Regions from separate parts of the Homo sapiens genome. Here all the other regions are linked to region 2. Evidence: promoter capture Hi-C in 16 types of primary human blood cells and fetal thymus (Javierre and others, 2016). All regions are on one chromosome and are shown on one strand. The core of a region is centred on a gene start or on the middle of the fragment in contact, and the rest is flanking DNA. Distances in the headings are between cores, read along the strand shown. Region 1 has its middle 340 kb from the start of SNORD151. Region 2 holds the start of IGFBP3 (insulin like growth factor binding protein 3). Region 3 has its middle 320 kb from the start of SNORD151. Region 4 overlaps PKD1L1 (polycystin 1 like 1, transient receptor potential channel interacting). Region 5 has its middle 260 kb from the start of SNORD151. Region 6 has its middle 310 kb from the start of SNORD151. Region 7 has its middle 280 kb from the start of SNORD151.

Region 1 (3,348 bases), core at 698-3,197, 1.2 Mb after region 2:
TGTGACCCCTAGAGAAAGTTCATCACTGTGCTGTCAATTTCTTCACTTGAAAGGGGAAATTTTCTGCATTACAGGATTTCTGTAAAAAGCATGTGAAAATACACACCAAGTAGGTGGCACATTTTTATGATTTACAAATTTTATCCAACTACCATATTCAATTAAACTGTGATTCCAGTGGGTGTCTTAGCCAGCTCAGGTTGCTATAACAAAACATCACAGAGTGGGTAACTTCAACGACAGAAATTTATTCTTTACAGTTTGGGAGGCTGGAAGTTCAAGATCAAGGTATTGGATAACTCGGTTCCTAGTGAGGGCTCCCTGCCCAGTTTATAGAAGGCCACCTTTTCACTGAGCCCTCACACAATGGAGAGAGAGATCATGTCTCTTGTGTCTCTTTTTATAAGGGCACTAATCTCATTCATGAGGACTCCACCTTCAGGAAATAATTACTTCCTATAAGCCTCACCTCCTGATATCATCATATTGGTGGGTACGGCTTCAAATGTGAATTTTGTAAGGACACAAACATTTGGTCCATAGCAGTGGCCAGAAAGTAGAAGGGGGTGGGAAAGAACGAGCCTCAAAAAGAATACCAACTCCTGTGAATCTATTCTTGACATTACTTCCTTCTCTCTCAGCAGTATTATTCAACCCCACGACTTCTAAATTGTTTGCCAGCCCAGATTTCCCTCCCAGAGATGAAAATCACATGCTAAAGGGACCCTCAAGCCTCTGGTGAGTGAAACCAGAAACACAGACCATCCTTGGCACTGTTTCCATATGGCCAGCATGGCTATGACCGGAGCCCCCATCCCCAAGCAGTGAAACAAGCCAGGGCAGACAAAGGACACAGCAAGGCATAGGCAGGTCTCATTTCGTATGAGCGCCTCAGGGTCAAGGTTAGGGCTTGCTTCCCATGCACACTGCACTTGGAATCTGGAATATATTTGGTGCTCAGTAAACTTGGATTTTCTATGTGAACGATTTAAATGAGTCCCTGCTGCAAGAGCACAGTGTTTCCATGCTTGCTGTTCTTTTGAACAACCACTGTTCACTTTCACATCTCCCTGGGCTGTCATTGCCTTAGGAGGCCTGCACTGGTCCCTGACATAGAGAGACCCTCACTGTTAGGGTCCTGGAGCACTGGAACCCTCCTCTCATAGGACACAACACACTCTAGTGAAATGGCATAGGACCTCTGTTTCCATTGGGACAGGAACTCCATGGCAGGCTTCCCTTGCGGGATGATGGATCACTGTGGGCTAATGGAATATTATACAAGGGAAGAAGCCACTGATTCTGTTTGAGCTGATCAGGGGAATGTTTGTGGAGACACCCTTGAGGGGCTTATCAAGTCAGAATGAGTTTTCCAAACAGACCAGGAAGATAGGAAAGTCCTGTGGAAGAAAACGCAGGCGTAAAGAGCCAGCGGTGTGCCATGGCCCCTGCATTTGGAGACCAGTGGAAGTTTAATGTGGCTGGAGTAGCAGGCAAATGTGCGAAAGCAGATTTGCACAGGAGGCAGTACAGGACTAGTCACGTTCATCATGCCTAACGTGATTCTGACCCAGGGCCAATCCCAGCAGACACCTGGCAATGACCAGAGACATTCTTGGTCATCACAACTGGGGAAGTGCTACTGGTATCCAGGGAGTGTTTCTCAGGGATGCTGTTAACAGCCTACAATGCACAGGGCAGCCTCCCACAGTAAAGTTACCCTGCCCCAAATGTCCCTGCTGCTGAGGTTGAGAAACCCTCCACTCCTGCAAGGCAGGATTAACACAGGACCGACCTCGCCATGGCCACTTCGGGCCTTCGTGACCCCAGCTGTGAAGGCCAGAGGACAGGAGAAAAAAAATGCAATGGGGACCAGTAGAGCCAAAATAAGGCTTGTGTTTCTGGGCTCTGGCCCAGTGTTGAGCCACTGCGTCCTCTGCCTCACCTGAAGGGGCTGCATCGGGAGCAAGAAGCCTGGCCACAGCCTTCTGGTCAGGTCTTGGCTATGGCTGCAGTCCATTTAAAACATTTTGTGACCCTAACTTTCCTCAGTGCCACTGACCTTCCTGCATCCCTCATGAAGCATAAACTCTGTGTCTGTGCTCTGCTGAGTTCAGTGATGGCCCTGCAGGCACCAAGGGGCCTATTGTGGAGGCCCTGGGGGGCAGGCACAGTGGGGAGGAGAGACGTGATGGCAGGGCCCAGCTCACTCAGAGTGCTGACAGTTAACAGACTCTCCTACAACCCAAGAGGCATCCGTTCCCATTCGGAAGCAAGGATGCTGAGGACTTGGCCACACCAATGGCTGGTTGAGGGTCACCCATGGTAAGGGATGAAGCCAGAGGCCCAAACACCAACACCAATTCAAAGGTGGTCTTTGAATCACTTGGGGCCACTCATGATGCCCTGTAACAGCCTGAGCAAACTCATTCTTCATTTGGTTGGTAGAAAAAGATTCTGAACTGTAGCAAGTTAGAGAATTGTTCTCACACTTGATTAAAATACAATTGCTAGCTGAAATCTGCAGTAGAGTTTTCGAACTCTTATATGGACATGGGAAGAGAAAGAAAGGCCAACAGAATAGTAAAAAGACTCTGGGATGCATGAAAACAAATTGTAAACATATTTAATTTTTATTTAATTTGATAAGCAGTCCTCTAATTCTTGGAACTTCAGAAAGTCACTCCTGGGAGCAATCGTGTTTGCAGAATAGGTAGTAACTCAGCTTTAGTTGTTATTTCTTCTGATAACAAATCACATTTTTGAGTCACAAACCAATATGTTTCTCTAACTCATTAGTGTGTGTTATTTTGTCTTTAAAAGACCCAGAGATCTTCCCTGCATACCCAGTTGGAGTGTCTGCTTATTGATGAGAACATTGATGGTGACTTGGAGGAGTTCATTTTACCTTTGAAGGATTGGACAATAGAAGCAATTTAAATGTGAGTTGTTCTCACTCCATTTAGTTAACACTTGTTTCATAAGGACTAAGATTACAAAGCTGACATTTATTTTATGTCAAATAACCACAGAAACCTGTGCACTAATAGCTGCCTTCACACTGCTACAGTTGAATGATGGTGAAGAATGCCAGCAAAAAAATCTCTCTTGGAGATTATGTGGGGATGTAATGAATGTAAGACTAGGCCCCTGAAAAATAAGATAATTAAGTTGTGGCTTTTTATTGTGCTTTCATTCTGATTGCGGCCTGGATCAATGCCAAAAAATTATGAATAAGCATAATGCCTGGCACATAAAAGGTGTTTAATAAATACCTATGAATAAATAAATAATATAAAGACATGAGGTATTGAAAGCCTTGGATTTGGATGTCCTGGATTTTTACAC
Region 2 (3,579 bases), core at 992-3,491:
TAAACGTATTTATACTTCTTTTCTAAGAACCTTGAGTAATTTCTTAAATTTCCTTGGTTTCTTCTTAATGCCTGGGCTGCAGACTAGGGCATGAAGACAAAACAGTTCTATTTAAGCAACAGATAATTGTGACTTTTGACTGTCGAAAATTTACCTTTTTTTGTCAAATAGATTCTAGAAGTCACTTAGATCTTTTTATAATCTTATAACTCACATCAACCTATACTACAGTGCTACTAAGGTGGTAATCATGATGATTGCTAAAGCCCAAGAATGACGATGTGTATCAGTATTTCTAAGATCACTTTTTGAATACCCCAAAATGCACAATAATGTACGACACTTGGCAAATGACATAACTTTGCCCCGAGAGACAAATGCCTCCAGCAGCTTTAACAGCTGACCAGAGCCAGTGTATGTTTCAGGCATCTTGCCTTTCCATGAATCCAGCATTTCTCAGGGGTGAACAGAGCCAGCCTTGCCGAGCCAGAAAATAACTTCACCCGGGCGTGGAACTCTACAGCTACATAAATTATAAAGGGACTGTTCATCCTGCTAGCCCTAGATGGGGGCCTGCCCAGTGACATCTGTCCAACGTGATCGTTGGGGAGTTGGGGGAATTAGGATGGGGAGAATTCTCCCAGCCTTCAGCTGTGCAAGGCAGGAACTTTATTTCTCATATAACTAGGTGAGGCTGGCTAAGAATGCTTGAAAGAACAGCTGCCAAATCCATTTAAACAACCCCCGCTCCTTTTTTTAAGGGAACAATGTGATGCCCTTACCAGAGTCGCTGTCTGCCTGATACTGATAGTGGCTAAGCCAAGAGGGTAACTCTGCCAAATGTTTGCATTTTTCCTCTTCTGGGGCTCCCCTTAACAACATCTCATTCCCCCCCCCATTTCAGATTAAGAAGGGAGACAGCCCTAGGACTGATTCCAATTCCCTTCCGTGTCATTGAAATTGACTTAGTCCACATTGCCCGCACCCACCACGCACCTGGAAGTTTGTTTGAGGTCGGCGCAGGTGCAGGGGTGGCCCGAGTTGTAAGAATGGTATGGTACTGAAAGTGGCACGCGGAGTTCAAACCTACACTCTGTTGTGGCCGCTGGGTAACCTTAAGAAGTTACTTCTTTTTCAGCTTCAGGTTTTCCAACCGCAGAAGATATCAAAACCCGAATCCACTTTACTTGTTTTTGGACATACCGGGACTAGACATTGCTTTGCAAACCAAAAGGCTGTGCAAAGTCAGTATTTTAAAAGAGAGGTACTATTTCCTACAACGTGCCTGCCCACCTTCCTTGGTCCAAATCCGCCTATATCCCCCCCATCCCCAAGCATCCCTGGGATTGCAGTCCGTGTGCACCCCCGTGCGGGGCGAGGAGAATCTCCTGTGTCCAGGATCTTTCCAACAGCTAAACATCGGTACCGCTCCCCTCAGCTCCGGAAACCTTTAACCCATTTTCACTGAAAGCGCTTTGCAATTTACAAGTACTCTGCACTTAGAGAATCGAGCAAGTAGAGGGCCGGCTGGGGAGGGTCCCTCCGGCGACCGCCTTCACCTTTCCCGGAGCGCCTTCAGTTTCCCCACATATTATCTCCAGTGAGAAGAAAAGCGGAGTCTCCCGCAGCGGCACCCAGCAACCCCCAGGCCCTTCGGCGCCAGTGCGCCGGGTGCTGCACGCAGCGCACCTGGCGCGGGCGGCTCACCTGGAGCTGGCGGCGCTGGCAGCAGGTAGGCGCGCAGGCGGCTGACGGCACTAGCGTTGACGCAGAGCCCGCGGCCGTCCAGCAGCGCCTGCAGCGGTCGCGCCTCGTCGGGCGACGGCTGGCAGCGAAGGCCGGAGCCACAGCGCTCGGTGTAGATGCCGCACGGCTGGCCCTCGCTCAGTGCGCACGTCAGGCAGCAGCCGCAGCCCGGCTCGCGCACCAGCTCCGCGCACACGGCGGGCGGAGGCGCGCACTGGGCCAGTGCACGCGCGTCGCACGGCTCGCAGCGCACCACGGGACCCAAGCCCGCCGAGCTCGCGCCAGCCCGCGCCACCGGCGGCCCGCGGAGCAGCACCAGCAGAGTCAGCGCAGCGGCCCAGAGCGTGGGTCGCGCCCGCTGCATGACGCCTGCAACCGGGGCACGCTGCTTGGCAGGCTGGGCGCGCAGGGATGGGGCGACAGTACACGGCGCGAAGCTGTGGAATCCAGGCAGGAAGCGGCTGATCCTCAGCGCCCAGCCGCAGTGCTCGCATCTGGGCGGCCCGGGCGCGCCGGCCGCTATATAGAAGCCGGGGTGGCCCAGGACACGCCCCGGAACGGCGCGCCCAGGAGTGGGGGTTGGGAGGGGGGCGGGTCGGCGCAGGCACGGCTGCGGGGGCCCGTGCTTCGCCCTGAGCAGCCGGGGCCGAGCTCGGGGGCGTGCAGCTCGAGACTCGCCCGGGCACCTGCTCCTCGTGCGCACGCCCGGAGCCCGGGTCACCTTGTCGTCTACAAGAACCAAGGTGTGCCCGGCCACCCCGGCACTCCAGGCCACCTCAGCACCCCCGGTCACCCCAGTCACTCCTGGCCAACTCAGCACCCCCGATCTCCTTGACCCCGCCGCCCTTACCCCTTCCGCTCTCGGGGTGAGGTCTCCCTGCGGCGAGCCGGTGTCGGGGAAACTGGCATACAGCGCTCCGCATTCGTGTGTACCTCGTGGAGCTTTCTAAAATTTAATTCCGTTGGCAGGCGAAGTCTTGGGACATTTCTGACTTACATTTGGGTCTCAGGGAGCCAAGGCACTGCGGGGTTTAATTTACACCCGCTGGGCTGTTTATATCCCCAGGGGCCCACAAATACGCATCTGAAGATGCGCCCGGGGCCTTCGCCCCTTTCCAGGCTTACTTCTCAACGCAAGAAGACTCTCACGTGTTGCTACACCGCAAGTCTCCAATTAAGAGTGGACCGGCAAGCGAATGCGTCCTTAAGGCAGGGCTTTTCAAATATTTTAAATGACAACTGTTCTTCTTGTCTTGGGTATTCTCCCTGATTATGTTTTCAAATGGAGTTTACACCCATGACAAAAGAATAATAAAGACAATAAACTGGGCACTGCTGAAACGTAATTAACCAAATAGTCCTTTAATAGGCAATTTTCATTGTCATTTTTTGAAGGCGACTTCGTATTACTGTATTCTCGATGCGTTGGGATTCTAGCTTATCTCTGCAATCTAAACACTTTTCAGTAAAGTTCGGGGGCGCAATTGCGCGCTGAGGTCGCTGTAACTCCTGTCGGCCTTCTCTGGCACTCGAGTTTCTTCAGTTTTGTCTGCGCACCCCCTCCCTTCGGTGACCAACAGAGGACGCTGGTGGTCCAGGATTGGATTGAGGATTAAATTTTTCAAGGCACTTTTCCAAAGAGTTTGTGGGGGTGGAGTGGGAAGCGGTGAGACCTCCGCGGGAGGAGACTTTCCTGAACGCTGTTGAAATTGGACGCTTGCCTTAGGAGGTGGATAGGTGACTTGAAGGAGCCCTTTGCAGTTTGGAGTAGTAATAGCAAATCAGGAGCTCCTCCATTCCCCTCCAGCACGAAGCCTTGGGTGAAGTTAATCT
Region 3 (3,204 bases), core at 566-3,065, 1.2 Mb after region 2:
ACCAGAAGTATTTACAATCAATTGATTTTTTACAAGTGTACAAAGAGCACATAATGGAGAAAGAACAGTGTTTTAACAAATTATGTTGGGAAAACTGAGTATTCACATGTGGAAGAACAAAATTGGACTCTTATCTCACACCATATACAAAAATCAACTCAAAATGGATAAAAGACTTAAACATAACACTGGAAACTCTAAAACTACTAGAAGAAAACATAGGGGAAAATCTCCACAACAATGGTATTGGCAATAATTTCTTGGAAAGTATTGCAAAAGCACAGACAACAAAAGCCAAAACAGAGAAATCAGATTGCATAAAACTAAAAAGCTTTTTCACAGCAAAAGAAAAAACAGATTGAAGAGACAACCCATGGACTGGGAGAAAATATTTGTAAATCATACATCTAACAAGGGACTAATATCCAACATATATGAGAAACTCAAACAACTCGATAGCAAGAAAATAGAACACCTTTTTAAAGAACAGACAAAGGATCTAAACAGACTCTTCTCAAAAGAAAAGATACAAATGGCCAAAAGATTTATGAAAGAAGCTCAACATCTCTAATCACCAGGGAAATGCAAATTAAAACCACAGTGAAAAATCACCCCATAGAATGGCTAATATAAAAAAGATGAAAGTTAACAAGAGGTGGTGAGGATGTAGAGAAAAGGGAAACTTGCACACTATTCATGGAAATATAAATTAGTACAGCCATTTTGGAAAATAGTATGGAGGTACCTCAAAAAAATAGAATTCTATAAATAGAATCACTATATAATTCAGCAATTTTACTTCTGGAAAACTGTCAATCATATTTCAAAGAGACTTAAGTAATAAGTGGAAAATTCCATGTATTTATTCATGTAATTCCAATTTCAATAGTTTTTTATTAATTTCATAGATCCGTATTTCCATCTGGTAGAATATTCCTCCTGCCTGAAGGATTTTCTTTAACATTTCTTATGTGTCTGCTGGCAATAGATACTTTCTGCTTTTCTATGTCTGAAAAAGTCTTTAGTTAGCTTCATTTTTGACATATTTTCACCAAGTATAGGATTCTCACTTGGCATGTTGGACTTTTGTTGTTGTTGTACTTTAAAAATGTTACCGTGCTGTCTTCTTACTTACATGGTTTCCAATAAGAAATCTGCTGTCATCCTTATCACTGCTGGTCTGAACATAATGCACCTTTTTTCCAAGATGTTTTTCCTAGCTTTTACTAGCAGCTAGTGAAAAAGGTGCATCGTGTGTATTATTTTTCCTTTATCACTGGTTTTGAGCAAATTGGTTATGATATACCTTAGTTTTGTTTTCTTCATTTTTCTTATACTTAAAGTTATTTAGCTTCTTAAATGTGTGGATTTATAGTTTCTATCAAACTTGGAAAATTCTTGACTATTCAATATTTTTAAGCTCCTCCCCTCTGTCCTCTCCTTGAGGCACTTCAATCACACGTATATTTGGCTACTTGCAGTTGTCCCACAGTTCTCTGAGGCTCTGTTTATTTCCTCGCTACAGGTCATATTTTCTTGCTTATTTGCATGCCTTGTAATTTTTATTGAATTTCATATACTGTGAATTTTGCTTTGTTGGGAACTGGATATTTCTGTATTCCTATACATATTCTTGAGCTTTGATCAGTTAAATCATGTGGAAACAGTTTGAAACTCTGGGGTTTAATATTCATTAGTTGTGACCAGAATAGTGCCCAATTTAGGGCTAAATATTTCCCTCTATTGAGGCAAAGCCTTCCTGTGTACTCTACCTAATTCTTAATGAATCTCACGCCTTTCCAGGCTGTCTGATGGAATAGACATTCTTTGCAGCCAAGTGTGAGTATTGGGTACTTTTGCTTTTCATCCTTCCAGATGCTTCTCTCCTTGGCCTTGGGTAGTTTTCTGCAATCAGGGATTTATGTGAACACATTGTATGCCATCTGCAGGTTGCCAGAGTTCTTTCTGTGTGCCCTTTCTTCTCTCAAGAACCAAGTTGAGCAAATTCTAGCCACTTTGTTACCATTGACTCTCAGCTTCATCTCTTCAACTCAGAACTCCACCAGGCTGTCTGGGTTCCCTCTTCCTGCCCCTGATACTGGAAACCCTCTCAAGGCAGTAAGCTAGAGAAATTATAGGGCTCACCTTGTTCTATTCCTGTCTCTCAGAGATGATGGTCCTTTACTGCCTGATATTCAGTGTCTTAATTAAAACATATTGTTTTATATGTTTTGCTAATTTGTTTTGTTTCAGGCAAGAGGCAAACATACACTCCATTACTTTGCCCTGCCCCAAAACAAAATTCAATACATCAAACAATTTTTGATCTTGGATTTTTAATAAGATCTAAAATATATATTTAACGCATTTTGTTTGTTGTCCTTTGCAAGAAAGTTATTTCCCAAAAATGTGATTGATTTTATCCACTATGTCAAATAATTGCTGTAAGTTCTATGTATAAAAGGTTACAGAATCTCATTGGATTCAAACAAATCCCATGGCAGAATATATTTTATTAGATATATATTCTACTAGATACTATTTCAAATATATACATAAAATATATATTACTAAATATAAGATAAAGATATATGTATGAAACAAAATGACATGGAAAACGTAAAATATAACAAAGATACAGAAAAAGAAAATTAAGGAGATAATAAGCAGTGATCATGATGAGACAGGCAGAAATTTAAGGAAAGATTGCTTAATAGCGTGAAGAACAATATCTTGTTTTGATAAAAGTATGACACAGATGTACCAGTCATGAACCAGGTGCTTGGAATGAGAAGAACCAAAAGATCTTGTTGAGCATCAAGAAAGCTCTAAAATTAAGAATCTGACAAAGAGGAATGAGGCTGTCATTTCTAGTCATAATGAGTCCAAATCAATCATGATGCATTGCCTGGGGGCTGGGCGTGTTCCTGTCTCTCACAAAATGAAAGTTCTTTAGCAAAGAGTAGTGAGAAAATTAGAAAGGCAACCAACAGTGCCACAGGAGCAAAGCCCTCAGCGTCCAAACTGCATGGTGGATAGTGATAAGGGGGACTCCTCCCACCCTCTGAAACACTGTCTGGTTAGTGTTGTCACAAAAATATTCTTTTTGCCTCAAATGCACTACACATTTTTTAAGTTCAAGTGTTCTTATTATAGGTTTTTCTCATGTTGCTCCACCCTGCACTCCACAGCACTCAGAGTCGT
Region 4 (3,626 bases), core at 1,045-3,544, 1.9 Mb after region 2:
GAGCTTGTTGTCGGGCAGCCAAGACCTGTCAGGGACAAGAGTGCTGTGAGCTGCGGGCTGGTGGGTGGAAGGAGAGAGGCCCCTGGTGCTCCTGCCAAGCCAAGGAATGTGTCATTGCTGTGCTGTGCCTTCAGCCTGGCATTTGGGAACAAAGAGGTACTTTGTATGGATAACATAGACCAGGTTGTTGGGGAAGGGATCAGAGATGGGGGTAGACCCATTTTTAAAAATCTGCTCATGTCCCAGGCAAGTTTTTTTGGCAGGGATTGCAGTTGGGCTATTACAAAGAGCTGCTGTACACGAGGGGTATGTCTACTACTGTCAAATTACAGCAGCAATTATCTTGGGCACTGGCACAGTATTTTCTCTTAGAGACTTTCAAGGTATGAAAAAATCATTTTAAAGTATAGTCTTAGCAAGAAATGACCTTTCTTTTCTTTTTTCAAAAATCAATTTTACTTTCATACTCTGTTCGTGACAGGGCATAACAGTAGCCAGATAAGTGAACTCATTGTAGGTATTCATTCATTCAACACACATTCACTGGATCAGGCACTGGGGACATCTGAGGAACCAGAGACAGTCCTTCCTCCTAGAGACTCTGGGCTTCTAGGAACTTGACAGCAGGAATGTGAACAATATAAAGCTGCACATGCAGAGTGTTGGGGCTTAAGTTACTCCCTTCAGCTGTTGTGCTGTTCTGAGAAAGGAACACGTGTGGCGGAGAGATCCGTGGGGAGGCTTGGGTGTAGGGGGGCACCCCAACTCTAAGATGCTAATGAGCCATGCATAGGTTTGGAGATGCCAGCCTGGCCCTCAGGATCAGGCTGAATTCATCAGAAGGAGCCTCACCTCTGAGGTTGGGATGATAGAAAGAAAATGAACAAACTGGCAGCACAGCAGGGCACAGCTGTACGAGGGGAGAAGAGGAAGGAGAGCCTTCCAAGCAGAAAGGAAAGCTGAGATCCAACAGGTATGAGGGAACAAGGGCAACGTTGCTTCTCAAGAGCTAAGGTGCTGCAGGGCGGGGGGTGCAGGAGGAAAGGGCAAGGTGGGCCAGGTTTGGGCCCCAGACTCCCCTTTACTGCAGTGTAGCCTGGGTCTAATTGCTTCACCTCATCTTTAAATGGGGTGCAGGGATGCTGCCTAATTCATCAGGTGTTATAAGGAACAAATGATCCGATAAATGTAAATACAGTGTAGATGTAAAACAGCATAATGACTAGTACATAGCCTGTGTGCACCACCCATCTTCAGCAGCAGCAGCCTTGGTTTTAGGCAGGGCTGAGAGGCCTCAGACAGGTCCTCAGACATGGAGTTTATTAGGATCCTTTGCGAGGAGGAGGGTGGAGATGAGGAGAGGCCCAGACCGGGGTCTGACTCTCAATGCACTGGGATTGGGTCCTTGGTCGTAAGTGACTTGTGGTTATTACAAGAGTACAGAATTGCACATGCATTTCAGGTGCTTAGTCAATGAGCCTGTGAATGTCTTTGCGGTGGCCAGCAGACCTCTCTCTTCCTTCATATCATTCACACTGCCCAACAGAATGCTACACATACAACAGGCAAAACTGAATAAAAGAAGGAAGAAAGGGAGGGAGGAAGGGACAAAGGGATGAAGGCAGGGAGAGAGGAAGGATGGGGAGGAGTACATTTTCTGTGGGTTCACTGAAGGGCAAATGGACTAAAAGTTCTCCAAAATCATGGCCAAGAATTAGAGTTCTTACTTGCTTCAGTATTTTAAAATATGCTCATTTTCTTGATGCTCTAACTTCTTTAGGATTGGAGTTAAAAAAAAATAAGTCCTATGTGTTCATCTATCATACAGGTATGTGCAAAGAAGCATAAGAAATTAAGACATCCCATGGGTCTCCAAAGATGCAACCCAATCTGAATTCAAAGCCTACATTCAGATATGCATGATAGAATATAAAGTAGTTTTTTAAATCTCAATTTGCACTGCATAGGTAATTTTTTTTACTTTTTCAACCTCGCCTGCACAGTCAGGAATACTGCAGCTTGAAGAGAAGGGGAGGCGAGTCCAGGAACGTTCTGCCAATTCAGAGTCCAGATCCCTGGTAGCCTCACATAAAGACTCAGTAAAAAAGTGGTTGTCAGCTCTTCTTTTCCAAGCAAAACCCAAGGCCATGAGGCATACCTGGAAGGAAAAACATGACAGCGCAGAGAGCCGCCCTATGTCTGTGTTCATTCCACACAGAGCTGTCCTCCCGTCCCCTAATCATGAACAGGACTCCATCTCCCAGTTTTAAAGACACCAGTAGTCACTGCCTTGGATTCCCAGCCCAACTACTCACCAGGCATGGCCCCGCCCAAGAGACCTAAATTCTCTGAGTTCAATTTCCTCAAATAAAAAACGTGGGTTAAAGTGGTACCCTCCTCAAAGATTTTTATGAGGATTAAAGAACAGGCCCATGTGCAGCTTAGCACAGAGCCTGGCTCCTGGTTCTCTCCAACCACAGCTGAAATCAGGGTATAAAGAAAAGTCATACACAACCAAAATGAAGCCTCTATTTCCCCTTCCCATCTAGGTCCCCTGCTGATGGAAGGCACTTCTACCATGGAGGGTGTTTCTTACCATAAGTGGCTGGGTGATGAAAATACAGCAGACCACGGAGAGGGACAGCAGGTGCAGCCACTGCACACATTGCTCCTGGCCAAACCTGCCCCCAGGGAAAGTGCAGTGGTCAGCCCCCTCTAAGGGAGCAGGCCACCCAGCAGTCATTGCTGCCTAAGCACAGGGACACTGCCTGAGAGGGCCTATGGCCTCGCCGTGGCAGGAAGCCTGCTGTGGGGGTGGTGCTGGACATGGGCAGTGTCTTTCTGCTCATCGGAGGGGAACCCTTGTCTGCCAAGAGGACATCGACCTCCCTGAAGCTGCCTAGTGGGAAAGAGAAAGGAAAACCCAACAGGCAGATGAAACAGAGCACAGAGAGGGGAAGGGGGAGGAAAATGGGTTGGGGTATAATAATAATAATAGCAGCAACAACAACAAAGCTGGATGCTGGCGGGTGCTCCGCAGGGGCAGGCATGATGCTAACAGGACTGCTTTCATATTTCAGCTGCTCCTCCCCAAGCCCTAAGAATTAAGCTCTCTGATGTTCCTATTTTACAGATGAGCAAACTGAGGCACAAGAGAGGTCTAAGTACCTGCCCATCCTCACAGAGTGATTCAACATCTACAGTTGAGGAGAGGGGAGAGACGGGAAGAAAGGGCCTTGGCTTTGAGGCTACTCTTTGTGGTTTATGAACCACACTGAGTGACCCTGGGGTCTCCGATGGCGAGTCCAAGCTGTACAGGAGCCAGAGAGGTACCATGTGCCGGAGTGACAGGATCAGAATCTGTGACACATGCATCATAATCCCTGTCCCGAAGGCATACGCTTTTTCAAATGATGGGAGACCATGAACAGTATATTCTAGCCAGAGTTCCTGGCTGGGAACCTGCTCCTCTCAGGAGCTCTGCAGCTGGGTTCCTTCCTTCCTTGGGTGGGCGTCCTGCAGCTTCTTGTTTAATATCTGGACCCCATCCAGGCCTGCTGCCATGGCAGAGCTGGCCAGGCCAAGCCACCCTTTGGGATCTGCATAGGATTTTATTTACCCCAGGA
Region 5 (3,441 bases), core at 357-2,856, 1.3 Mb after region 2:
ATGTAAACATCATGTGGGTGAGACTCAAGGAACTATTCATCCTAAGGCTAATTTCCTCCCAGCTGTGAACCTGTAAAATCAAATTAGATATGTATTTCCAAAATACAATAGTGGGACAGGCATCCATGTTGTTACATAGATAAAAAGTGTTTACCACAAGTATACCGCAATTTACTTATTCATTCTCCTAGTGATAGACATTTGGGCTGTTTCCGGATTGGGGCTATTATAAATAATGCATCTATAAACATTTTCATACAAAACTTTTACAAGAAATACTTACATTAGAACATTTTCATTTCAAAAGAGAGAAATAAGAAGAAAGAAATGACAAGTCCGAAACACAACAGAGCAAACATTAAATCTTAAGGCTAGAGAATAATTTTCTTTGAGTCCATGTATCACCTTCCAGACATACTGGGGCAGAGATTTGCCCTCAAGATTCCTGGCAGCCCCCACCCTCATGGCTCTGCTAGAGATTTTTGTTTTTGCTCATACCACAGTTCTCTCAGGTGGGAGTCCAGGTGCCTACAGCCCTCCCAGGCTGGTGCTGCACACTGGTGTTTCTATAGCCATGAGGTCTCTGGGGGTGGTCCTGTCCCCACAACTTCACTAAGCATTCCCATAGGGTGGGTTCTCTGTAACAGCCCCACCGCTGTGGCAGATATGCCTTGGCCTCAAGGCATTCTTGAAAATCTAGGTGGAGGTAGCTATGCCTCCACAGCTCTTGCATTCTGCTTGCCTGAAAAATTAGCACCACATAAACAACATTAAATCTCACTCCCTGTGTCTTCTGTAGCAGTGGCCCCAGCTGCATGTAGGTCCCCTCTAAGCCATAGCAGGGGTGGCCAAGGAGCATTACACCAGAATGTGGAGAACAGAGACTTGGGACAGCCTTGGGCCACAAACCCTGAGGTCCTATGGGTATCCTGGTTTCTCCCCAGAAACTGTTCTGCCCGCAAGGCCCTAGAACTCTGGGCCTGCAATGAGCATGGGAACCCCAAATATATCCGAAATGGCTTTGGGGTCATCATCCATTGTCTTGATGAATAGCATCTGGTCCCTTCTATCCATGTTAATTTCCTTATCAAATGTTCATTTGGCCATACCCTTGGTTTTCTCTTCTAAGCATACATATTTATTCTTTAAATAGACAAGCTTAGAATTTTCAAAATCTTTAGGTTCTGTTTTACTTTTAATTACAAATTCCATCTTTAAATCATTTCTCTCTTCTTTCGTTTTACTATAAGCAGTTAAGAGAAGCCATACAGTATCCTGAACACTTTGCTAGAAGAAATTTCTTCCACCAAATATCCTAGTTTATCGCTCTTAAGTTGTGCATTCTACAAAGTCCCAGGACAATGACAGAAGTCAGTCAAGTTCTTTGTAACAAGAATGGCCTTTCCTCCAGTTTCTCATACCTGTCTCTCACTTTCATCTGAGACCTCAGCAGAATAGTCTTCAATGTCCATGTTTCTATCAGCATTCTGGCCAAGCACTTAAGTAATCTCTAAGAAGAATGAGGTTTTCCTACAGCTCTCCTTTTCTTCCAAGCCTTCACCACCATCACTGTGAATGCACCACTCTTGGCAATCTGGGCTTTTTCCTGCATTCCCTTCAAACCTGTTCCAGTGCCAGCCATCATCCAGTCCCAAAGCCATTTCCACAGTTTTAGGTTTTTGTTGTAGCAACACCCCAATTCCCTGGTACCAATTTTTGTTTTAGTCAGTTCGTGCTGCTATAACAGAATACCTGAGAGTGGGGAATTTATAAAGAACAAAAATTTATTTCTCACAGTTCTAGAAGCTGGAGAGTCCAAGATCAAGGTGCCAGCAGGTTTCTTATCTGCTGAAGATCCAGTCATTGCTTCCAACAATTTTGGAGAGGACAAAAACATTTAAACCATAACAATGACCTATCAAATAATACTATGTAGCTAGCTAGCTACTTATCTACCTGAGGAGACTCTCCAGATGGTGAGGCAAGGTCAAAGGGAAGGATGGCTAGAGTGTTAATTACTAGGCAGTGGTGACTTGATGCAAACAAGATGGGACTGAAGCTTTGAGTTCCTATGGCATACTCACAATCACAATCTCCCCCTATTCAGAGACCATCTTTTAAAATTCATCTGTTTGGATCATTCCCCTCTCTCTTCTCAACCCTTTGGTTGGTTTGTTAGAAGCTGCACACATATCCTTTGTTAAGGAGGATGGCATACTTTCTTTGATGCACTGGACTATGAAGAGCAGGACTAGTTATTTCCGCACCTTTGGGAGGCATGATTTTTCTCTTTGCTGTCTTGAGTTTGCCTTTTTCTCAAAGTCATAGTGTTGATATCTAGAGTCCTAATGTTGCACGGGGCAGAGTGGATGCTCAGAAGGGCTGGTTTCAGCCATGGAGGCTGCAGACTTCACTGTTGCCTGACCTCAGAGGTGCCTACAGCTCCAGTGGTCCACAGAGTTAAAACCAGATGACTGTACAAAGATTTGGGGCCAAGGCCTATTGAGTAATGCCAGAGAATATGCATGCCTGAGCTTGTCCCCATGGCGAGCATCAGCTTTGGAAAGCTGAGTGGCAGTAGGTGGGAATTAAAAACACAAAGCCATCTCGAGCTTATGTTATGCCATGACATAAAAATTTGGATGACTTTGGCTTTGAGTGTTGTAAATCAGCAATATCAACAGCTCATCATCTGGCAGGGCTCGGGATGAGATTCCAGTGGTGGCTGCCACATACCTGGAGCTGGCTGTGACATCGACAGCACACTCACAGGCCAGCAGCCTGCTGCTGCCACATCGCCCAGCCCTGTCCATGTGCTTCAGCAAGGGCTCTCGGAGTCCTCCAAGCTCTGCTGCTCAGTGCCTTTAAGTGAGTTTTTCCATTTCCCTGCTTTTCACTCAGCCTATTTGGCTTCTGTTCCCATGGAACTGCTCTCTCTTTTCATCATATTCAATGAGCTCTTTTTGTTTTGGTGAGGGGACATATATTTCACATTTCATTCAGCCACATAAAAAGTGACTGAGGGTGTGCTGCACCCATCAACTCGTCATTTAACATTAGGTATAGCACCTACATGGCACATGTATACATATGTAACTAACCTGCACGTTGTGCACATGTACCTAAAACTTAAAGTATAATAAAAAAAATAGAAAATAAAGAAACACAATGACCTGGATGTGCAGGGGTGAGGAGAGTTCAGGTTCTAAATGGTGATTTAACAATTACATAATACGTTAGCATCTGAGAATAGGCATACAAGAAAAAAAATCACTGGGAACAAAGATCAGAGAAAAATGTTTAAACTAAAACATACCTTCTTCAATATAAGAAGTACCCCTTGTAGTTTGTTTTGGCTCACTTGAACTTAGCAGGACATTTTGTCCAAAATTCTACAAAAATAGAATATTGAATTAAAACATATCTCCATATTTAAAATTC
Region 6 (3,492 bases), core at 894-3,393, 1.2 Mb after region 2:
TTTTGGCTCCCAATCCCCCATACAGACACTTGTCTGGTGCTTCTTCATTTTTCCATTCGACTTCACCAATGCAGAGCTGGTCTTCTCTTTTTTATCTTCAGTTTCTAGGGTTTTACCAAATTTAAAATGCCAGGGGCATATCTTAACCCCACACCAGAAGGGCTCTAGCAACATAACAGTGGGATTCATCTTGTTGACCTCACTTCTGATTTACCTTCTAACAACAACAAAAATGACAAAGCATGATAAAGGCATGAAAAAACACTTCTTATGAGACAAAGCAAACATTAGAACTAGGCTTAAGTAATACAGAGTGTATTCGTCAGGGTTCTCTAGAGGAACAAAACTAATAGAATAGATGTATATATGAAGGGGAGTTAATTAAGGAGTATTGACTCACATGATCACAAGGTGAAGTACTGCAATAGGCCATCTGCAAGCTGAGGAGCAAGGAAGACAGTGCAAGTCCCAAAACCTCAAAAGCAAGGAAACCGACAGTGCAGCCTTCAGTCTGTGGGTGAAGGCCCAGGAGCCCCTGGCAAACCACAGTGTAAGTCCAAGAGTCCAAAAGCCGAGGAACTTGGAGTCAGATGTTTGGAGGCAGGAAGCATCCAGCACAGGAAAGAGATGAAGGCTGGAAGACTCAGCAAGTTCACTCCTTCCACCTTCTTCTGCCTGCTTTAGCCACGCTGGTATCTGATTAGACGGCGCCCACCCAGATTGAGGGTGGGTCTGCCTCTCCCAGTCCACTGACTCAAATGTTAATCTCCTTTGGCAACACCCTCATAGACACACCCAGGAACAATACTTTGCATCCTTCAATCCAGTGAAGTTGATACTTTATATTAGTCATCATACGGATTTAAAAACTATCAGACAGCATATTTAAAATAACTATAATTAATATGTTAAGAACTCTCATAGAAAAAGGAGGCAATATGTAACAGATAACTAATGGAAGCAGAGATGAAAACTTGAAGAAAGAACTAGAAAGAAATGCTTCTAGCCACCAAAAGAGGACTAGTGTATGATCTCATTTATATGAGGTATCTAAAGTACTCAGATTAATAAAAGCACAAAGTAGAACGGTGGCCACCAGGGACTGGAGGAAAGGGGGAAAGGCATGTTGTTGTTTAGTGGGTACAGCATTTCAGTTTGGAATGATGAAAAAGTTCTGGATATTTGTTGCACAATGTAAATATCATTAACAACACCGACTTGTACCCTTAAAAATGGTCTAGGTGGAAATTTTACATTATGTGGTAGTTTTTTTTCTAATCACAATTTTTTAAAATGTTGAGGCTGCAGAAAATCAAGACCTGTCTTGATATCCTACAGGCTGGGGTGGAAATTGGCATCCCATGCTGGAATGAACTTAATAGTGTCTAGTCTAATTGAAATCTGTATGCACATAACTCAACAAATCTACTTCTATGTATATGCCCTAGAAAAACTCCTTTGTTTGCCCAAGAGGCTCAAAGCTGTTCATTAAATCACTATTTTTATCGCAGAAATTTTTTAAAAGAAAAATATTTTTTGTGTTGGTAATGGATACGTAAATGTTGTAAGTTAATATGGCAGAATACTATATATAGCGATTAAAAATATGATTAAAGTATTTAGCAGCTAGTCATTGAGCAGTTACTATATGTCAGATAGTGTCTGTCAATAAACCTTTTCTTATTTAATTAAAAGAAAAGAATCAGTGATTTTAAAGACAGCCAAATAGAAACTTCCTAAGCTGAAATGCAAAGAGAAAAAAAGTAAAAAAAAAAAACCAGAATATTCAAGAATTGTAGGACAATTTCTACAGATATAAGATATGCATAATTGAAATACCAGAAGGAAAGATAAAAGAAAATGGATCAGAAGAAAATTTAAAGTAACAATAGCTGAGAATTTCCAAAATTAATGACAGGGACCAAACCACTGATCTAGGAAACTCAGAGAACAATGAGCAAGGTAAATATCATCCCATATTCAAACTTTAGAAAATCAAAGACAAAGAGGAAAATCTTGAAATAAAATTCGGGGTGGCACAGAACGTTTTACTTATAGAGGAATACAAGTAAGAATTTCAGAAGACTTTTTAGAAGCTATGAAAGAAAAAAGACAAAGTGAAATATTTAAAATGTTGAAAAGGGCTGGGCACAGTGGCTCACGCCTGTAATCCCAGCACTTTGGCAGGCCAAGGCATGAAGATCTCCTGAGGTCAGGAGTTCAAGACCAGCCTGGCCAATGTGGTGAAACCCTGTCTCTACTAAAAATACAAAAATTAGCCTGGTGTGGTGGCACATGCTTGTAGTCCCAGCTACTTGGGAGGCTAAGGCAGGAGAATCACTTGAACCCGGGAGGTGGAGGTTGCAGTGAGCTGAGATCGCACCATTGCACTCTAGCCTGGGTGACAAGAGTGAAACTCCATCTCAAAATAAAATAAAATAAAATGTTGAAAAGAAAAAAAATACCAACCTATAGGATTTTAGGTTGGCGAAATTATCCTTCAAAAAGGACAGATAAATTAAGACTTTCTCAGACAAACCAGAACTGAGATAATTCACGGCAAGCAGACCTGCCCTGCAAGAAGTGTTCAAAGAGGTTCTTTAGGCAGTGAGATAATGGTACAGGCCAGAAACTAGAATCTGCCTAAGAAAGAAAGTTCATCATAGAAGGAATAAGTGAGGGTAAAACAAAATACTTCATTTTTCTCATTCTTAATTGATCTGAAAAATAACTGTTTGTTACCGCATGTTCTCATTCATAAGTGGGAGTGGAACAATGAGAACACATGGCCACAGGGAGGGGAACATCACACACCGGGGCCTGTTTGGGGGTGGGGGGCAAGGGGAGGCAGAGCATTAGAACAAATACCTAATGCATGCGGGGCTAAAAACCTAGATGACAGGTTGATAGGTGCAGCAAACCACCATGGCACACATATACCTATATAACAAACCTGCACATTCTGCACATGTATCCCAGAACTCAAAGTAAAATAAAATAAATAAATAAATAAATAATAACTATTTGTTTAATCATAGTAACAATGTACTGGATTCTTATAGTATATGGAAAAAATGAAATGTGTGACAACAATGTTATAAGGAACAGGAGGGAGGAATTGGAAGAATTCTGTTACAAGACACCTGTGCCTGAATCAGTATGGTGTTATTTGAAGGGGGACTTAGGTTAGTTAAAAATGTGTATTATACACTTTTGGGCAACAACAACAAAAAATTTCAGTGTACTTGATATGCTGGTAGAGGAGATAAAATAGAGTCATAGAAAATGTGCAATTAAAACCAGAGAAAGCAGAAAAAGAGGAGAGGTTTTAAAAACCACAATAAATAGAAAACAGTAACAAACATGGCAGATATTAATCCAACTATACTGTACCAATAATCACTTGATTGAGAATGATTTTAATACACCAATTAAAAGACTGAGATTGTCAGAGTGGATTGAAAACAAACCTAACTCTGTATTGCTTACAAA
Region 7 (3,341 bases), core at 420-2,919, 1.3 Mb after region 2:
AGATTGTATAACCAGTGCATCAAGGGACACGGAATCAGTGGCACCATTTCCTGAGTCTGCAGTATAAAGGTTAGCTGGCTGCCCAAGGAGAAACACAGCAAGTCAAAGAGAGGTCAGAGGTTTCTCCCTGAGGTCTTTATACAGAGATCATGATGTAGCGTAGTCAAGGACAGCCTCACCGATGTCCTCATGGCGAGCAAAGTCATGCATTTTACAGGGCTCTGTCTTAGAATGTCCCTGCAATGTACATTACATTTTAGGAGCATTCAGGAAAAGTACTGCAATAAAAGAAAGCCATGTGGTCCCCAGAGCACTCTGATGATGTGGCTTAAGGCTGGGACCAAATGAACAGTATTGAACACTAGCAAATGCCTAGGTGCTTGTCTCCGTGAGTTTTCTTTGCGACGCATTTTGACAAGCGTGGGATAGCTCTGAGTTTGACATTTTATCTTCTGAGATGAAGCTGGAGAGAAGCCAGTCCAGGCATCCCGTGCTGCAGTGGCTTTTAGGGGAGCTGAGGACGGCAGTCTTCCTGTGTCCAGGCCCCCCAACCAACCTCCTCCACAGATGGGCAGAAGAATCTCAGTGAACTGCATTAAAATTGGTCTTTACCCCATGAAAGATTGGCAGTGGTGCAGGAAAAAGAACAAAGGGCCAAGCCTCAGTCTCCCCATCATCAAATTAGAAGAGTTAGCTAGATCCGTGATTTCAAACTTCCCTCAATCCAGCTCCCTGCTCAGCCCTGTCCCAGCCCGGCCCCAGAGTCCTTCCCTGAGTGCTGCAGCTGCAGCAGGACTGAGAATTCCCACCCTGAATGCTACAGCTGCTTCCCAAGTATGAAGCTGAACAAATGAATTTTCTCACCAACTTGCTCACATGTCTGACCTGACAGTGCACCTGTACCTCAGCTCCTCCTCTCTGCAGTCCGCCTAGGGCCCTCCCCACTACACTAAAGAGAGGCGTTACCTGTCCTAGGAATAGCACACTGTTCCCTGCTCTCCCCCCACCATGCCCCAGCAGCTTCCCAAGCTTGGCATTCCTACCAATTCATGTAAGCCAATCCCAAAGGACTCTATTTATAGTTTTCAAATATTGGCACATGAGCTGCTTCCAGCCTGCCAGGTACTTTCTGAGAAAGAACACAGTACAGCTCTCTCTTGCTCGCTCTGCCTCTCTCCCTCCTACCTCTCTCCTTCTGTGTGTGTCTCTCTCTCTCCCCAAATGCTGCTTTTAAGCCTATCAGCCCCTTCACCAGGGACTGTGAACACAAAGACCAATGCAAAAAACATCTTCAACTGAAGCCATTCCAAATTGGAAACAAGCCACCATCCATGGAGAGTTTGGGATGGTTTGGAAAAAAGTATTTTGCTATTGCCAAAGTTCTAATTCAGCATCCTTTGAAATCTTACATTCAAGAAGTAGTCCTTATATAACACAAATTTGGTGAGAACATTCCAATGCTCATCATTCAGGTGTCAGGAAAAGATCCAAATAATAAAAAACTTAAATGAGTCCTTATTTTTTTTTCCACTGGGGCACATATGGCATTCACATGTAAGAAACACTCATAAATGTGTGCCCAGTATTACCCACGACTCACTGGAACCCCAGGCCAGGGGTGGGGACCACAGACACTGAGTGATGGTACAGGAAGAGGAAAGGGGTAGGCCTCCTCCACTGGGCAATGGTTTACTTCTGTGACAACAGGGTCTCCATAGCACAGCATGGTGCCCAGCATGATGATGGGCATCGTTCCTGCACCCTGGGGTCCCCAGAGCTGTTTGGGGTCCCACTGATGGGATGCAAGTAGAGATACCGGACAAGAGCTGGAGTGAGCTGAGGCTGCTAATGTTGCCCCATGGCAGGCATCAAAAGTTTCTTCCTGCCCAGGCTGGGTTGGAGCAAGGAAGACCCTAAGCCTCCCCAGCATCTACCGTATTGTTAGATCTGGAAGTGGGAGCCCTCAGAGAGTATAACTTTGAACCCTATCACAAAATGCTGATATAAGACACAAACAGAGAGCATTCCCCTCTCTGTGCCTTGGCCCACACCTGGGATTGGTGGAGCCTCACATCTCTATGACCTTTAACCTTCACCATCACTGCAGTTGCCTGACTTCTCTTGTTGCCAGAACACACAGAGCTCATAACCAGGGAGCATTTGCAGGTATTTCTGCCTCTGTCTGGAATGCTCTGTCTCCTCTCCTTTTCACTCTGCCACCTGGCTCTCCCTGTTGGAAGGGCCACTATCTGAAACTGCCTTATGTCTTCATATGTTTCACGTGTGCAGCTGTCTCCCCTAGTAGAATGTAAGCTTCAGGGGACAAGGCACTGTTTTATTTATCACCATACCTCCTGCATTTAGCATGTTAATTAGTCATAGTATTTGTTCAATTAGACATGGCAAATTGATACTAGCTACTCTTTATTGAGTACCTATAATGTTGTCAGAGAGTTCACATGCCTTCTGGGAAGTTCCCAGAACAATTCCATGAGACACAAACCTCACACCCAGCTTCAGTCAAGCTGGAATACTATCATTAATATATGCAAATTCAGTAAAGGCAGCTTTATATGAAAGTAAGGTACCATTCCCTGAGCCTTCTAATGGGCCATCTGACCAGGGGAGCAGTGGGAGTAGAGAGAAGTGGGTGAGTCCCAGGGTCAGATGTGGAGGGTGAAGCATGTTCACATGTCTGTGCTCCTAGGAATGTACCCCTGCATCTGGGGTGATGCTTCAGCCTCACCCACAGTGCCCTACACACCTGTCATGCACCATTTACTGGAATGGGTTGTTAGGAGAACGTTCTGCACATTTACAGGGTTTAACCTTCATCCTGGAGAAAAATCACAGCCCTCAAGCTTCAAAGATTCTCATAGAAAATTTCTGGAAAATAGAGATCTCTAGAATTACAAGTCAGAATTGATGTGATTCTTCTGAGACTGAACTTGGAACCAATACAAATGAGAAAAAAGCAGAAAGAATGTGCGCCAGACCCACGTCTGCCCCACCCCCCGCCACTGCAGCCTTCTACTCCTCCCCACCCCGTCCTACAGAATCCAGTTCTGACCACCGCTGTCACTCAGCGTCTCTCCAGTTATCCCCAAGGGGCTCGTCAGTACCAGAGAAATGTAAACTAGAACCACGATCCAGTGCCCCTTTGAACCATCAAACTGGCAAAATATAAAAAATAAGAAACCAAGCATTGGTGAGGATGTGGAGCAGTGGAAACCCCCCTACACTTCCAACTGGAAGGTAACGTGGCCCAACCACCTGGAAAATCAATTTGACAAAATTTAACAGAACAGAGCATATACAGACTCTACAACACAGTCATTCCA

Evidence for each region. The method cuts DNA at HindIII sites, captures the fragments that hold promoters and counts their contacts. A CHiCAGO score of 5 or more calls a contact.
Region 1: a fragment that was not itself captured here is called in contact with the fragment with the promoter of IGFBP3 in region 2 in 7 of 17 cell types (M2 macrophages, M0 macrophages, M1 macrophages and 4 more); the score reaches 10.4 in M2 macrophages.
Region 3: a contact is called between a fragment that was not itself captured here and the fragment with the promoter of IGFBP3 in region 2, in 6 of 17 cell types (M1 macrophages, M0 macrophages, M2 macrophages and 3 more). The highest score is 14.8, in M1 macrophages.
Region 4: a contact is called between a fragment that was not itself captured here and the fragment with the promoter of IGFBP3 in region 2, in 1 of 17 cell types (naive CD8 T cells). The highest score is 6.7, in naive CD8 T cells.
Region 5: a fragment that was not itself captured here is called in contact with the fragment with the promoter of IGFBP3 in region 2 in 9 of 17 cell types (M0 macrophages, M1 macrophages, M2 macrophages and 6 more); the score reaches 20.1 in M0 macrophages.
Region 6: a fragment that was not itself captured here is called in contact with the fragment with the promoter of IGFBP3 in region 2 in 6 of 17 cell types (M1 macrophages, M2 macrophages, monocytes and 3 more); the score reaches 10.2 in M1 macrophages.
Region 7: a contact is called between a fragment that was not itself captured here and the fragment with the promoter of IGFBP3 in region 2, in 12 of 17 cell types (total B cells, M0 macrophages, M2 macrophages and 9 more). The highest score is 88.4, in total B cells.

What each region holds. Positions count from the first base shown.
Region 1 is chr7:47,120,663-47,124,010 of GRCh38, forward strand. No RefSeq gene overlaps it. Among named protein-coding and RNA genes, the nearest start is that of SNORD151, 340 kb to the right of the region's middle. RefSeq lists an enhancer at 1,755-2,254. The HindIII fragment of the contact is 5,266 bases long and covers 1-3,348 here.
Region 2 is chr7:45,919,031-45,922,609 of GRCh38, forward strand. It overlaps IGFBP3 (insulin like growth factor binding protein 3), which reads right to left and starts at 2,242. Exons shown (of 5, transcript NM_000598.5): 1 at 1,708-2,242. The coding sequence starts at 2,110. RefSeq lists enhancers at 2,045-2,625, 2,626-3,206. The HindIII fragment of the contact is 8,094 bases long and covers 1-3,579 here.
Region 3 is chr7:47,139,537-47,142,740 of GRCh38, forward strand. No RefSeq gene overlaps it. Among named protein-coding and RNA genes, the nearest start is that of SNORD151, 320 kb to the right of the region's middle. The HindIII fragment of the contact is 2,973 bases long and covers 330-3,204 here.
Region 4 is chr7:47,827,444-47,831,069 of GRCh38, forward strand. It overlaps PKD1L1 (polycystin 1 like 1, transient receptor potential channel interacting), which reads right to left. Exons shown (of 57, transcript NM_138295.5): 43 at 2,597-2,681; 44 at 1,982-2,158; 45 at 1-25. Among named protein-coding and RNA genes, the nearest start is that of PKD1L1-AS1, 34 kb to the left of the region's middle. The HindIII fragment of the contact is 5,313 bases long and covers 1-3,626 here.
Region 5 is chr7:47,199,832-47,203,272 of GRCh38, forward strand. No RefSeq gene overlaps it. Among named protein-coding and RNA genes, the nearest start is that of SNORD151, 260 kb to the right of the region's middle. The HindIII fragment of the contact is 901 bases long and covers 1,157-2,057 here.
Region 6 is chr7:47,155,405-47,158,896 of GRCh38, forward strand. No RefSeq gene overlaps it. Among named protein-coding and RNA genes, the nearest start is that of SNORD151, 310 kb to the right of the region's middle. The HindIII fragment of the contact is 5,824 bases long and covers 1-3,492 here.
Region 7 is chr7:47,181,024-47,184,364 of GRCh38, forward strand. No RefSeq gene overlaps it. Among named protein-coding and RNA genes, the nearest start is that of SNORD151, 280 kb to the right of the region's middle. The HindIII fragment of the contact is 1,284 bases long and covers 1,028-2,311 here.